Regions from separate parts of the Homo sapiens genome. Here all the other regions are linked to region 1. Evidence: promoter capture Hi-C in human tissues and cell types (Jung and others, 2019). All regions are on one chromosome and are shown on one strand. The core of a region is centred on a gene start or on the middle of the fragment in contact, and the rest is flanking DNA. Distances in the headings are between cores, read along the strand shown.

Region 1 (2,700 bases), core at 161-2,660:
GAAGACTCAAAAGGAAGGGAGGTGAATGCCCACTCCCCCACCTCCAAGTCCAAGAACATAACACCTACACGTACACAGGTACTCCCGTGACATACACTTTGACACGGCGGTGCAGATGCAGTGTTCTCTACATTGGGGCCAAGGCGCCTCTGTCCAGGGCCCTGACAGTTTCATCCCTGCCAGATCTGCGCTCCCTAGAGCGGGCGGCGTATACCCCACGCAACCCCAGCTCCGCGCGGGTTCCACGGGCTGCAGAGGCGCTGGACTGGGATGCTGCCCCTCCCACCCCCTTTGCCTATAGAGGGTACCGAAGGCCGGGGTGGGGGATGGGGAGAGGTGGAAAGGCAGGGGGTTCCCTCCGGTTCCCCTGGAGGCTGGACTTCCAGCAGAGGCGCCCCACCCCCACCCTCCACGGCGACCACTCTGCGTCGCAACAGACCGGACGGGCCGACCCGGAGGTGGCGCGGGCAGTACCAGGCCGCCGGCGGCGCCGCAGGCGCTGAGCGAGACGAGGGAGCCGGGGTGGCCGAGCACACGGCCCGAGTAGAAGCACAGCTCGGCGGGGCGGCCGCGGCGCCGGGCCGCGCCCGCCTCCTCCACCTCGAAGCCTCGGGACAGGAAGCGCAGGTCGCGGCGCAGCTGAAGGTACAGGTCGCGCCCGAAGGCCGGCAGGTGCAGCAGCAGGGCGCGCTCTCCGGGCCGGGCGCGCGGGGCGGCTGGGGGCGTGCGGGGGCGTCGCCGCCGTCGGGGCCCGGGGGCTGCGGGCAGCGGCGGCAGGTGCACGTCGTCGGGGCGCACCCGCCACGGGAGCACCACCTCCACGTCGGCCGCCGCGTCGCCGACAGCTGCGGGGAGAGAGGAGACGCGTCAGCGCGGCGGGGCCCGCCCGGACGCCCGCCCTCCCGCTGGCCGCCAGCCGCGCCAGCGCGGGGACAGCGCGACCCGGAGCCGGCGCTGCCTTCCCTTCCCTCGCCCGGCACCTCCACGCTGGCCCGCGCCACCCGGGGAGGGTCTCCGGCGCAGCCGCGCGAGCACCTCCCGGAACGGCGCCGCGCATCGGCGAGCGGAGACCCGGCGGCGGCGCGCCTGCCACGGAGCCACCCGATTCCCGTACTCCGGCCGCGGCCCGCGCCTCCTCCGCTCGGGCGCCGTCAGCGGTCCCGCCGCCGCCCCCGGGCCGCCAGGACGCCGCGAGAACGCAGAGGGAAGGTAGCCGCAGGACGCGGGGTGAAGAGGGCTGTGGGAGGGGGCGCTACCTGTGCCCGGGTCCAGTCCCCAAACCAGCAGCAGCAGCACGGGCAGGACGAGCGGAGGCAGCAGGGCGCCGTCACACATGGTACCCGGGACCGGCAGCCCCCCCGGACCGTGGCGGCGAAGCAGGAGCGCGCTAGGCGGCGGCGCCAGCCGGAGTGAAGCCCTCCAGCCTTTGGAAAAAGTAATTAGCGCTGCGGACAAACCCAACGTGGTAAACCCCAAGCCCCGCCTTCCCCTCGGAAGGCGGGAGGGGATTGGGCCCTCGCTTTCCTCCGCCCCGCCTCCTCCTTCCCTACTGGTTGGGATGGGTCGAAACCACAGTGCGTAGTTAGGTTGTCAGCGCTTTCTTACACGTGGTTTCTGGGCAGTGGCGGGGACACGGCACCAGGTGGCGCGCGGGAGCCGACCGGAGCCGTGGGACCCTGGAAGAGCTGGAGGATGCGGGGCTGGTCTTCAGAGCTTGTCCTCATTTTGGAACTCTCTCAGCCTGCTGCCCAGTTTCCCGGGAAGGTAGGGCGGAAATCGCCCCGGCCAAGCGGTTTCATCCAAAACTGCATATAATCTTTACATCTGAAGTTAGGTTTTAGTTGTTTGTGGCCGCAAAGACTCCCAGTCCACTTTCCCGCACACCTGAGTTAGCACCTGAAGGCTATATCCGCGGCGTTTATCCAAACTCTTCACACCTCCTGTCTTCTTTAATCCCACAGGAGCCAGTGCAACACGCATGCTCACACCCTCTTACAGACTGAAAAACTGAGGAAGAGAGAGAGCTTAAGGAAAAACGCTGAAGTTACCCAGAGAGTTCCTGTTGGAGCAGAGGCTAGAATTTGTGATCCTGATTTCTGGCTTGGTGCTTCTTATTAACAGCAGGATCCCCCCGCCCCGAGGGAAGCAGGACTCAGTGTTACAGGTTAGGAAACGGAGGCACAAAGTCCCAAAGCCTAGCCTTGAACGTGAGTCTCCCAGAAACAGAATGAGTTGATCCTTTCCTGCCACAATATAACTGAGGTCTGCAGGGAAGGTGACTCCATTAGCTTGCTGAATAGCATCTTGTAGAGGCTCATGCCTGTAATCCCAGCACTTTGGGAGGCCAAGGCGGGCGGGTCACGAAGTCAGGGGTTCCAGACTAGCCTGGCCAATATGGTGAAACCCTGTCTCTACTAAAAATACAAAAATTAGCCAGGCGTGATGGCGCACACCTGTAGTCCCAGCTACTCGGGAGGCTAAGGCAGAAGAATCGCTTGAACCCGGGGGGTGGAGGTTGCAGTGAGCCGAGATTGTGCCACTGCACTCCAGCCTGGGCAACAGAGCAAGACTCCATCTCAAAAAAACAAAACAAAACCAAACAAAACAAAAAAAACAATTAAGTGTAACCATAACCAATCTCAGGTTTCCCGTCCCTTCCCTGTCCTGCTCTTTTCCATTTTATCATAGCAGAAAGGTTAT
Region 2 (2,700 bases), core at 128-2,627, 160 kb after region 1:
TCTCTTTGCTCCAAATAAATTAATGTGCTAATAACAGCTTTTTGAAATAGAGTCAACAACAGAGATTATAGATGAACATTTATCTACTGTTATCATAACACTAGTACAATTTTAATAAAAAGGCTGGAAATAATATCCATTTAAATTAAATCAAGAAAAAAATAAGTTTACTTTTTCTGAGAAAGCAAACTGATAGTTTTTCTCTTTGATTTCCTTGCACTTTAGAACGAAGGGCAGCTATTAAACCTTTAAATAAACCTTTAAAATAAGCTATACTATATAGCAATATTTGGTTTAGACTTTAATGAGCCATTTTTGTTATTTTATAGGCACTTGAGGATGCTAATGCTTCCTGAGTCATAGACTCTTCTAGCACAGCCTTTCTGGGAATGCACATGCATTGTCAGACACCGTGGAAGAGTAGATGAACTGGGTTCCCGTATTGTCATTGATACCAATAAGCTCTGTGGTCCGCAACCTCTCTTGATCTTGATTTTCTTCGTTATAAAACTAAAGCACTCAGTGGGATCCATGTTTCTAATTTTTTGTTGTTCAGCCTTTAAATAACATTTGGAGCGCATCTGATTACATTAACTCATCCCCAGAATCTGTGGCCCATTAGTGGCAACCTCTGAACAACAGATTCTTTAAGGATCTCACTAAGCCTAAGACTGTATTATTCTAGTGTTAGAGCAAAGAGGGGGAATGGGAAGGAAAGACACAAGTACTACTTACTTTTCAAATACACGTCTGATAATCAGCAAGAGAAAAGCATATGGAATTGTCACGTATAAATGAGAAGGTTTTACAAAGACGAGTCCATCGTGATCCTCAAGATCTGACCACTTTATTGTTGGAGGAAGCCAGAATCTTTCCAACCAGAACCATTCTTTAAACGTCCAAAACATTCTAGAGAAATGGAAACAGACATTAGGCTTGTAAAACAAACACGTAACTTTAGGATAACATTGATCACCTTGGCTCAAAATGCCAGATCCAGAGAGCTTAGAAAATAAGGCAAGAGGCCTAGCGCAGTGGCTCACACCTGCAATATCAGCACTTTGGGAGACCAAGGCGGGCGGATCATGAGGTCAAGAGATCAAGTCCATCCTGGCCAACATGGTGAAATCCCATCTCTACTAAAAATACAAAAATTGGTCAGGTGTGGTGGTGCACACCTGTAGTCCCAGCAACTTGGGAGGCTGTGGCAGGAGAATAGCTTGATCCCAGGAGGCGGAGTTTGCAGTGAGCCAAGATCACGCCACTGTACTCCAGCCTGGCGACAGAGCAAGACTCCACCTCAAAAAAAGAAAAAAAAAAAAAAAAAAAGAAAGAAAGAAAGAAAGAAAATAAGGCAAGAATGGAATACTATTATTTAATGGATTATATGATCCTTCATTGCATTAAACAGGAATTACTCTTCCATACCCTCAGGACAATTTTGTTTATGGAAAAACTCAAGTTTAACACATCACTATTCACACTTTTGGCAAAACATATGTGAATATTATGCACGTGTATTTTCTTTGTGTATGATTCTATGGTATAAAAAAATAACAATAGGCTTTACAACTTTAACATGCCAAAAGTCAATGTCCTGAAGGCTCCAGGTAGGTACAAATCATCACTAGTACCCTAAAAAATTCCCCAGGAAATAAGGGGCAGGCACGTTTCACTTCATATTACAAGGAGATCAAATTAGTCTATGTAAAGGAATATTTATTAAGATTCTGTTATTTGTGAAGAGCCGTGCTGAGCACTGAGGATAAAACAATTAATAAGACAGGCTTCCTGCCTTGAGGACATAATAGTCTCGTAAGCAAGGCAGGCCTGAACTCATGACTTCAACACATTTTTTTTTTTAGGTATGCTAAAAAACGTATACAGGTTGCTGTGGGAACAAGATGATGGGCACTGAGCCCAACCAGGAAATATCAGGGAAAGGTAACTGGAAGAAAAAGTCCTTGAGATATCTTGAACAATAAGTGGACATAAGCCAGGAAAGGCAGGAAAATGGGGAAGAAGGAATACAAGTTCTAAGCAGACAAAGTATTCAGACTACAATCAAGTAACCAGAGCATAGAATAATGTAAATTAGATGTTTTAATATCATTGTTTAGGCTGTGATCATTTTGGACTTGGGATTTTGACTTGAGGATGCATGAATTTCATCTTTTAATGTTTAATCAGAAAAAGGAATCAAAATGTCCTCAGATTCACAACAAGGTTGTCAAAATCACTCTGTCAAAACCTCTTAATCGGGAAATAACAAGGCGCACATAGAAAACTACCAGTGGGTTGGTACTACCACAGTGAATGAATCCAAGGTGTGGAATGGTAGGTTACAAATAAGTGCCCAGGCACTGCAGTGGATTGCCCTGGCATAATCAGTAACAGCTCTTCCTTCCTTTCAGAAGTATTCTGAAAGGAATACTTTGGACAATAAATCATATGATCACCCTCATTAAAATGCTGGTGGGACAAGCAGGCTAGGCCTTAGAGCGTTTGCTTGCATTCCATGCTAAGGAGTTTGGCATTTAGCTGATAGGACCCACTGAAGGGTATTATGAAGAGGAATGAGATGGTCAGCTATTTTAGAAAGGTCAATTTGGTAGCCAGCTCCTCTGTGAGCCCATAGGGTGTCTTTGTGCTGATTAGAGGAAGGTATTCTCTCTAGGCAGACACAGCTCTACCAAGCCC
Region 3 (2,700 bases), core at 97-2,596, 240 kb before region 1:
TGTTATTTTAGAGGCTGTCTGCATCTGGAGACAGGGAATGCAGGGCTGTCCATGTCTGAACAGCAGTGACTCTAAATGCTGACGGGTGACAGCCACAAAATCTGCGAACGGGGGCATTTTCTTCCATTGTTTCAGTCAGCGCAAGCAACTTATAATCTTGGCAGAAACTGGGATGGTTTTCAAATGGAAGCTGCCATAGGACACAACTGAAGTCATTAATTCTGAATATTAGGGGAGCTTTGATGATTGTATTTATGAGGCTTGGTGTTCCAAGAGAACAAGATGACCAAGCCTGAGGAAACTCCAGGCAATAAACTCTCTCAAGTCTTCCCATGTTATCCTGGTGATCCTTAGTTACTTTCCTAGGAATCTTCATCACCCATTTCTCAGCTTTCAAAGCAGGGCTTCAAGTTCCTGGCCAGCATTTGCTGGTCGCGCCCTGTGCCTCTGGCTAAGTCAGGGTGTATGTGACACCAAAGGACCAAGGAACAATGTCCCACGGCATAATTAAAGGCATGGGATGGTATGAGATGGTATGAGATGGGATGGAACGGGGGGAAAAGCACAAGTTCTTCATTGGTCAAGACAGCTCCTGAGAAACATGCAGAAAGTGCTTGGAAAAGCTTTAGTGCTCAGATCCGTGTGCTGAGGAGGGCACAGGATGGGCCGTGGACAGTGGCAAATGTCCATCTTTAGCTGTCTGAGTCCTGGATTCCACCCTGGAACTTTGCCCCTGTTGAAGATAACCAGGGACAACAGCCTCCTGGTCATCACACCTAGTGGACGTGTCTCCAGCCTCATCTTTCACCTCCTGCTCTACAGCGTCCGCTGTGTGTAACGCCCACCCTGTCTCTGTTGTGCATGTATTGATTCACCCGTGGTGCCTGTTATGTGCCTAACCTGGAAATAAAGACATGTAAGATGGAGGGAGACGCCAGTGCGGAAACAAGCAGACACCCCAGAGTGTGTGCTAAAGATGCCCTGGAAGCCAAGGATGGCTCCTGTCTGATTCTCCTCCCAGCCCCTGGATGACTCCTCCCTCCTCTTGCTTCTTCGACTCCGTGAAAGTGGGTAGCTCCCCCGGGGCTCCCTGCTTTTTCCGATTTTTCATTTTCTTGGTAATTTCGCCTTCTCCTTATTTCAGCCATCATCCTCATGCAAAGAGCTCTTAAGCCCACTTCTCCCCTCACTCCACCCTGGCTCTCACTACTAAGAGTCTGCTGAGCAATCTCTCCACTTTCAATGCGACAGCTTCTCCTCCAAAGCTGCCTGACCTCTTAATTCTAGTTGGACACCCCCTGCCACTGTCTTGGAACTGACAGACAGGCATCCTAGCCTGAAACCTCCAAGCCATTTCTGACTCTTCTATTTTGGGATGTACCCAGTTAGTTGGTGAGCTTGGGTTTTTTGTGCCCTGAAAACCTCTGTTGCCTACTTCTCCTCCATGTTCAGCTCCACTCCCTAGTTTACACCCTCCTTAATCAGGACATGAACTATGGGAGCATTTTTCTCCTGCCTGCTGCCAGACTAATCTCCACACAAAAAGAGAGATAAGATCTGTGGCCAAAGATCCCCACTGCCTATCAGAAACGTCCGCACATATGAATTTAAGACCCTCCATGATCTCATTCCAGCTGCTCACCAACTCAGCCTGCCTTCCTCCCCCACTCCAGATGCACAGTGAATCCAACCCCCTCCAGCCCACTCTTGTAAGCCCTCCCCCGGAATGACCCCTCAGCCAGGTGGGCAACCAGAATAGCCTCTTAACTTGTTTCCTGGGATCTACTTGAGTCAGTTATCCATAGCTAAGATCGCTTCACTCCTCTGCATCAATTCTGCCTGGGCCCTGGCTCCTTTGTGCCAGCCTCCGCCCTCGTCTGTTGCTGGAATGCACCCATCTCCCTCTTGCTTCCCTCTGCCTGGAGCTCTCTGCCCCCAACTCTCTGCCAGGCTGGCTCTTCCTCAAAGGCTGTCTCCTCTAAGAGAAATGCCATGCCACCTGCTCACTGTCCTCCTCAGCCACAGTCCCCCGCTGGGTCTCTCTATGGCACCATTTTCTTCTTCACACATACCAATCTCTGGAATGATCACGTTTGTGAGCTGACATGGCCTGTCTGTATGTTGGACAGGGACAGGGATCCTCTTGGTCCTGCTCCCTAATGAAAGCCCAGCACACAATACAGTGTGCAGCACTCGGAATGTGATCAACAAATACCTGATGCAGGAATAAACGAAATTCCACCCTATGGGTTTTCTGCTATGTCTAAGTGGAACCTCTTCTTGGTTGTTAAATCACGCCTTCGCCTCTGGTCGTTGGGTTTCCAAGTGAGTATGTGTCATCTCCCTAACGGACCATAAGCACATAGAGGACTGTGTCTGAGAATTCTTTGTATTCTTGGCCTTCCCCCATCCTCTGACACACACAGTGGCTGGTGTGGTATTAAGCACATGTGTGTTCAGTAAGAGCATACAAATGATGACCTCTTATCAAGCTGGGGAGTCTAGTTTTCTCATATTTGAATTGGGACTTCCTCGTACAAGTTTTGATGGTACTTGTTTTTTCTGGCTGGAATAAGCAGTACTTGCTTTCTTCAACTTATTAGCTATCTTCCAACTACTGCCTCATCCCATCTCTTCGGTTGGAGGGAGGCCACCGACTTCTTGAATGACTTTTAAGCGAGTGCAGATTTTAGGCCAGTT
Region 4 (2,700 bases), core at 120-2,619, 180 kb before region 1:
GGTGTTTCTGTTCCTTAGAGATAATCACTGTGCTAACGGGAATCACTGGGTACCATCCTAGACCTTGACTTACAGAATGATCTGAATCTAAGCCTTCCAACTCATTACAGAGTATGGCTTTTCTATCTTTCACATCTAACAAGATCACACCTGTCACCTTCCCTATTCAGCTATACCTGAGACATACCAGGATGCCTGTCTAGGCCTGGAGGGCTCATCACACTGTGAGCTGAACAGTGATCTTAGCTTATACACTTGCCCTCACTGGGGTGAGCCAAGACATGCAGCACGCAAGATCCAGTTGCCCAGTTTGCTGACCCAGAGTTCTTATGCCCCAACGTGTATAAGGATGACCATCTTTCAACAATCTCAGTGGAACAACGACAACAAAAAAGAACATGTACTTTCATTCATTCAAAAATATTAGACACTTTCCAAGTGCCAGGTAACGGACCACAAGGAAAAGACCTCAAATCACTGCCAGCTTGGGAGAAGAGATGAACACTGACACAGATAATGATAAAAGAGGTTTCTAAACTCTGCTCTAGAGCCATGTTTTCCTAGTTTGCTCATAGATATCTGACCATCTTCCGTCAGCAACCCTGCTTGTTGCCTAATGGTGGTGTCTCCCCAAAAGAAACCCATCCTGTCTTCTCTGCATGCCTGCAGGCCACCCCCACACCCTTTTGCCTACAGAGATGCTCCCTTGGCCAACTCCCACGTGGAGTTGGATCAGCTAAAGTCACCCATGTCCTTTGGAGGATCCGCTGCCTGGCGCTCATGTGTTCTGGAACTTTGGGCTAGCGGGGCCCTCTCTGATCACCCACATGTGACTTCCCCCGTCAGTGGAGGGGGGGCATCCTTACCAATCTTCCATTGTATTTATTCTTAAACCTACTGATGTCAGTGACACTTGTTATTTCAATTCATACATGTGGCTACATGTTGGGTTAACCAACGAAATATGGGGACAAACACCAAGTTGTTGTTCTCATGAAAACAGATTTAGCCAGTAGCTAAGATAGACTGCTGTCCAACTGGGTGTGGGCAAGACAACTGTGAAAGATGAATAAATCATAAAAATCTGCTCCAAGGCTGCTTCACAAGTCTTTTACAATCCTTTTTATGTGTATACAAACACACACACACACATGCACATATAAAAGAAACTAGATTCAAACTCTTATTATAGGCATGCTTTGTGTGAGGAAAGTGTATTAGTCCATTTTCACACTGCTATAAAGTGTTTCACACTTGAAACTGGGCAATTTTTAAAGGAAAGAGGTTTAACTGACTCACAGTTCTGCCAGGGAGACCTCAGGAAACTTACAATCATGGCAGAAGGTGAAGGGGAAGCAAAGACCTACTTCAAATGGTGGCAGGGGAGAGAAGCACAAGCAAGGAAAATGCCAGATGCTTACAAACCCATCAGATCTTGTGAGAACTCTCTCACTGTCACAAGAACAGGACAGAGGAAACCACCCTCATGATCCAATCACCTCCCAGCGGGTCCCTCCCTCGACACATTGGATTACAATTCAAAATGAGATTTGGGTGGGGACACAGCCAAACCATATCAGAAGGTGACATGGAAGTCCAATTGGCAGACACCCGTCCTCAAAGAAGAGGCTTTCCCTCTCCATTACAAAATTGTTGAAAAAAACTAATGTTTTTATAGCTTAAGTTAAAACAAAATGTCTAAGGCACTTACATATAATGTCTTGTTATTTCTCCACTTGAATCAATTTTTTGCTTAATTGCTCAAGTGACCAACTAGAGTCATTTCTGAAAAGGGAGTGTCTGCATCGCCACCTAGGTATAGATGGCCATATTTTCGCGTGGTCTGGACTGCTATCAACCTCAGACCCTCCTGACTGGAGGCCCACAGGCTCTTCCAACTCACCCTATTTTCTCAGGGCAGCAGAAACTGGTGCAAAGCGAGCATTTGGTAAAAATATTTATTGAACGAATTATCTGTTTAATAGCAAAGAAAGTGCCAAAAAAATACCGGACAACTCATATCCATGACAAGTGTGTTGATCTGGCGTGGTGGCAGACTGCTTGGCAGAATGGCAAAAGTCACCTCTCGTTAGATTCAGTCTCGTCCTCATGCCTCAGTGTCAGGTATCTATCCAATTAGGGTTAAAGGAAGACTGAAGAAATTATCAGACAAATATGGCCAGTGAGAACAGTTTAGCTATATTCTTTTTTTTTTTTTTTCCTGAGATGGAGTCTTGCTCAGTCACCCAGGCTGGAGTGCAGTGGCAGAATCTCGGATCACTGCAACCTCTGCCTCCCGCGTTCAAGCTATTCTCCTGCCTCAGCCTCCCGAATAGCTGGGACTAGAGGCACGCGCCAGCACGCCTGGCTAATTTTTGTATTTTTAGTAGAGACAGGGTTTCACCATGTTGGCCAGGATGGTCTCAACCTCTTGACCTTGTGATCCGCCCGCCTCGGCCTCCCAAAGTGCTGGGATTACAGGCGTCAGCCACTGCTTAATGGTCACTTTGTTGAATAAAGTGAGTTCTATTTTTTCAATGCAATTACTCAGCTTTTTACTTTACTTTTGGGTGAGCAACAGAAAATGTTTACTTATACACAAGTGCATGAGAAAGCAATCTCCATTCAGCTTTAAAAAAATCCTGTTACAAATAAAAAAGATTTTAAAAATATATTCATCCTTGGCACCAAAAAAATTCT
Region 5 (2,700 bases), core at 63-2,562, 160 kb before region 1:
ATCTACCTATGTCATTATGTTTGAAATGAGTTTCTTTCAGGGAGCAGATAGTTAGGTCACATTTTTAAATCCATTCTGCCAGTGTTTGTCTTTTAGCTGAAGTATTTTTTTAGATCATTGAAAGCAATTACTGACATGTTAGGGATTAAGTGTGCCATTTTATTATTTGTTTTGTTTCTTTTGTTTCTTTTTTCTAGACATCCTGTGGGTTACTTGAACATCAATTAGAGTTTGATTTTGATTTATTCATGATTTTAAAAATATCACTCTGTATAGTTCTCTTAGTGGTTCTTCTAGGTATTGCCATATACACACATCACAGCCAACTGGTGTTGACATTTCACCACTCTGAGTTAAGCAGAGAAATGTGACATTTATTTAGATCCTCATACCCTCCCCATAATGCACTGCCTTAAGTGTTCTGTCTACATACATGAAATGTTATAACTTATGCTTCAAAGCTAGAATATGACTTAAAAAGTTTACGAAGTTAAGAATACTCTATAATATGTAGTTGTACTTTTACCCATTCTGTTGTTCTTTTACTATTGTTCTGTTGTTCTTTTACCCATTCTGTTGTTTTTTACTATTGTTCTGTTGTTCTTTTACCCATTCTGTTTTGAAGGATCCATATTCTTCTCCTACCATTTTCTTTGGAGAGCTTATTTCAGCCATTCTTTAAGGGTCCGTTTACTAGCAACAAATTCTATTAGATTTCCTTTTTCTGAGAATGTATTTTTTCTTCATTCCTGAAGGATAGTTTTATTTGATATAGGATTGAAAATTGAGAATTATTTCAACACTTAAAAAAAATTTTGTGCCACTTCATTCTGGCCTCTATGATTTCAGATGAGAAACCTATCGTCATCCAAATTGCTGTTCCTTTAGAGGCAATACATTGTTCCCAATTTTTTTTTCCTAATTTCTGTGGGTACATAGTAGCTGTATGTATTTATGGGGTGCATGAGATATTTTGATACAGACATACAATGTCTAATAATTATATCAGGGCAAACGGGGTATCATCATCTCCAACAATCCAAGTATACTTTTTTAGTTATTTAAAAATGTACATTTAAATTATAACTATAGCCCTGTTGTGGAACCAAATACTAGGTCTTATTCATTCCTTCTAACTAGTTTTTGTACCCATTAACTATCTTCACTTCCCTGCCAGCCTCCTATTACCCGTCTTAGCCTCTGGTAACCATCATTCTACTCTCTATGAGTTCAATTGTTTTAATTTTTAGCTCCAACAAATAAGTAGAACATGTGAAGTTCGTATTTCTGTGCCTGGCTTATTATGACCTCCAGTTCCATCCACGTTGTTGCAAGTGACAGGATCTCATTCTTTCTACTCCATTGTGGTAAGTACCATATTTTTTTAATCCATTCCTCTGTTGATGAACACTTTGGTTGCTTCCAAATCTTGGCTATTGTGACTAGTGCTACAATAAACATGCGAGTGCAGATATCTCTTTGATATACTGACTTCCTTTCTTTTGGGTATATACCTAGCAGAGAGATTGCTGGATCACAAAAATAGTTCTATTTTTAGTTTATTGAGGAACCTCCAAACTGTTCTCCATAGTGGTGGTACTAATTTACATTCCCACCAGTGTATGAGGGTTGCCTTTTTTCCACAACCTTGCCAGCATTTGTTATTGCCTGTCTTTTGGATAAAAGCCTTTATAACTGGGGTGAGATGATATCTCATGGTAGTTTTGATCTGCATTTCTCTGATGATCAATGATGAACACTTTTTCATTTGTATGTCTTCTTTTGAAAAATGTCTATTCAGATCTTTTGCGCGTTTTTAAATCAGATTATAAGATTTTTTCCTAAGAGTTGTTTGAGCTCCTTATGTATTCTGGTTATTAATCTCTTGTCAGATGGGTAGTTTGTAAATATTTTCTCCCATTCTGTGGGGTGTCTCTTCACTTTGCTGGTTGTTTTCTTTGTTGTGCAGAAGCTTCTTAACTTGATGTGATCCCATTTGTCCAATTTTCCTTTGGCTGCCTGTTCCTGTGGGGTATCACTCAAGAAATCTTTGCCCAGACCACTGTCCTGGAGTGTCTCCCCACTGTTTTATCAGTTTCATAGTTTGAGGTCTTAGATTTAAGTCTTTAATCTATTTTGGTTTTTGTACATCGCAAGAGAAAGGGATCTAGTTTCAGTTTTCTGCATATGGATATCTAGTTTTCCCAGCCCCACTTATTGAGGAGACTGTCCTTTCCCCAACGTATGTTCTTGGCACCTTCGTCAAAAATGAGTTCACTGTAGATGTATGAATTTGTTTCTGGGTTCTCCATTCTGTTCCATTGCTCTGTGTATCTGTTTTAAATGCCAATACCCATGCCATTTTGGTTACTATAGCTCTACAGTATAATCTGAAGTCAGGTAATGTGATTCCTCCAGTTTCGTTCTTTTTGCTCAGGATAGCTTTTGCTATTTTGGGTCTTTTATGGTTCCATATAAATTTTAGGATTTTTTTTCTATCTCTGTGAAGAATGTCATTGATATTTTGATAGGGATTGCACTGAATCTGTAGATTGCTTTGGGTAGTATGGATGTTTTAACAGTATTTATTCTTACAATTCATGAACGCTGAATATCTTTCCATTTTTTTTGAGTCCCCTTCAATAGCTTGCATCAGTGTTTTATAATTTTCATTACAGAGATCTTTTACTTCTTTGGTTA

What was found. The method cuts DNA at HindIII sites, captures the fragments that hold promoters and counts their contacts. A contact is called where the count stands out against the background at its distance.
Region 2: a fragment that was not itself captured here is called in contact with the fragment with the promoter of ADAMTS17 in region 1 in 2 of the 25 tissues and cell types used here (aorta and spleen).
Region 3: a contact is called between a fragment that was not itself captured here and the fragment with the promoter of ADAMTS17 in region 1, in 1 of the 25 tissues and cell types used here (mesendoderm cells).
Region 4: a contact is called between a fragment that was not itself captured here and the fragment with the promoter of ADAMTS17 in region 1, in 3 of the 25 tissues and cell types used here (H1 embryonic stem cells, mesendoderm cells and thymus).
Region 5: a fragment that was not itself captured here is called in contact with the fragment with the promoter of ADAMTS17 in region 1 in 1 of the 25 tissues and cell types used here (H1 embryonic stem cells).

What each region holds. Positions count from the first base shown.
Region 1 is chr15:100,340,565-100,343,264 of GRCh38, forward strand. ADAMTS17 (ADAM metallopeptidase with thrombospondin type 1 motif 17) reads right to left here and starts at 1,411. Exons shown (of 22, transcript NM_139057.4): 1 at 1,257-1,411; 2 at 475-845. The coding sequence starts at 1,335. RefSeq lists an enhancer at 1-263. The HindIII fragment of the contact is 7,903 bases long and covers 1-2,700 here.
Region 2 is chr15:100,500,942-100,503,641 of GRCh38, forward strand. It overlaps CERS3 (ceramide synthase 3), which reads right to left. Exons shown (of 12, transcript NM_001378789.1): 3 at 736-909. The coding sequence starts at 908. Among named protein-coding and RNA genes, the nearest start is that of CERS3, 27 kb to the right of the region's middle. The HindIII fragment of the contact is 5,225 bases long and covers 1-2,700 here.
Region 3 is chr15:100,099,219-100,101,918 of GRCh38, forward strand. The region is part of intron 14 of ADAMTS17 (ADAM metallopeptidase with thrombospondin type 1 motif 17); the gene reads right to left. Among named protein-coding and RNA genes, the nearest start is that of ADAMTS17, 240 kb to the right of the region's middle. The HindIII fragment of the contact is 5,776 bases long and covers 1-2,700 here.
Region 4 is chr15:100,155,684-100,158,383 of GRCh38, forward strand. The region is part of intron 8 of ADAMTS17 (ADAM metallopeptidase with thrombospondin type 1 motif 17); the gene reads right to left. Among named protein-coding and RNA genes, the nearest start is that of ADAMTS17, 180 kb to the right of the region's middle. The HindIII fragment of the contact is 5,688 bases long and covers 1-2,700 here.
Region 5 is chr15:100,178,046-100,180,745 of GRCh38, forward strand. The region is part of intron 8 of ADAMTS17 (ADAM metallopeptidase with thrombospondin type 1 motif 17); the gene reads right to left. Among named protein-coding and RNA genes, the nearest start is that of ADAMTS17, 160 kb to the right of the region's middle. The HindIII fragment of the contact is 4,607 bases long and covers 1-2,700 here.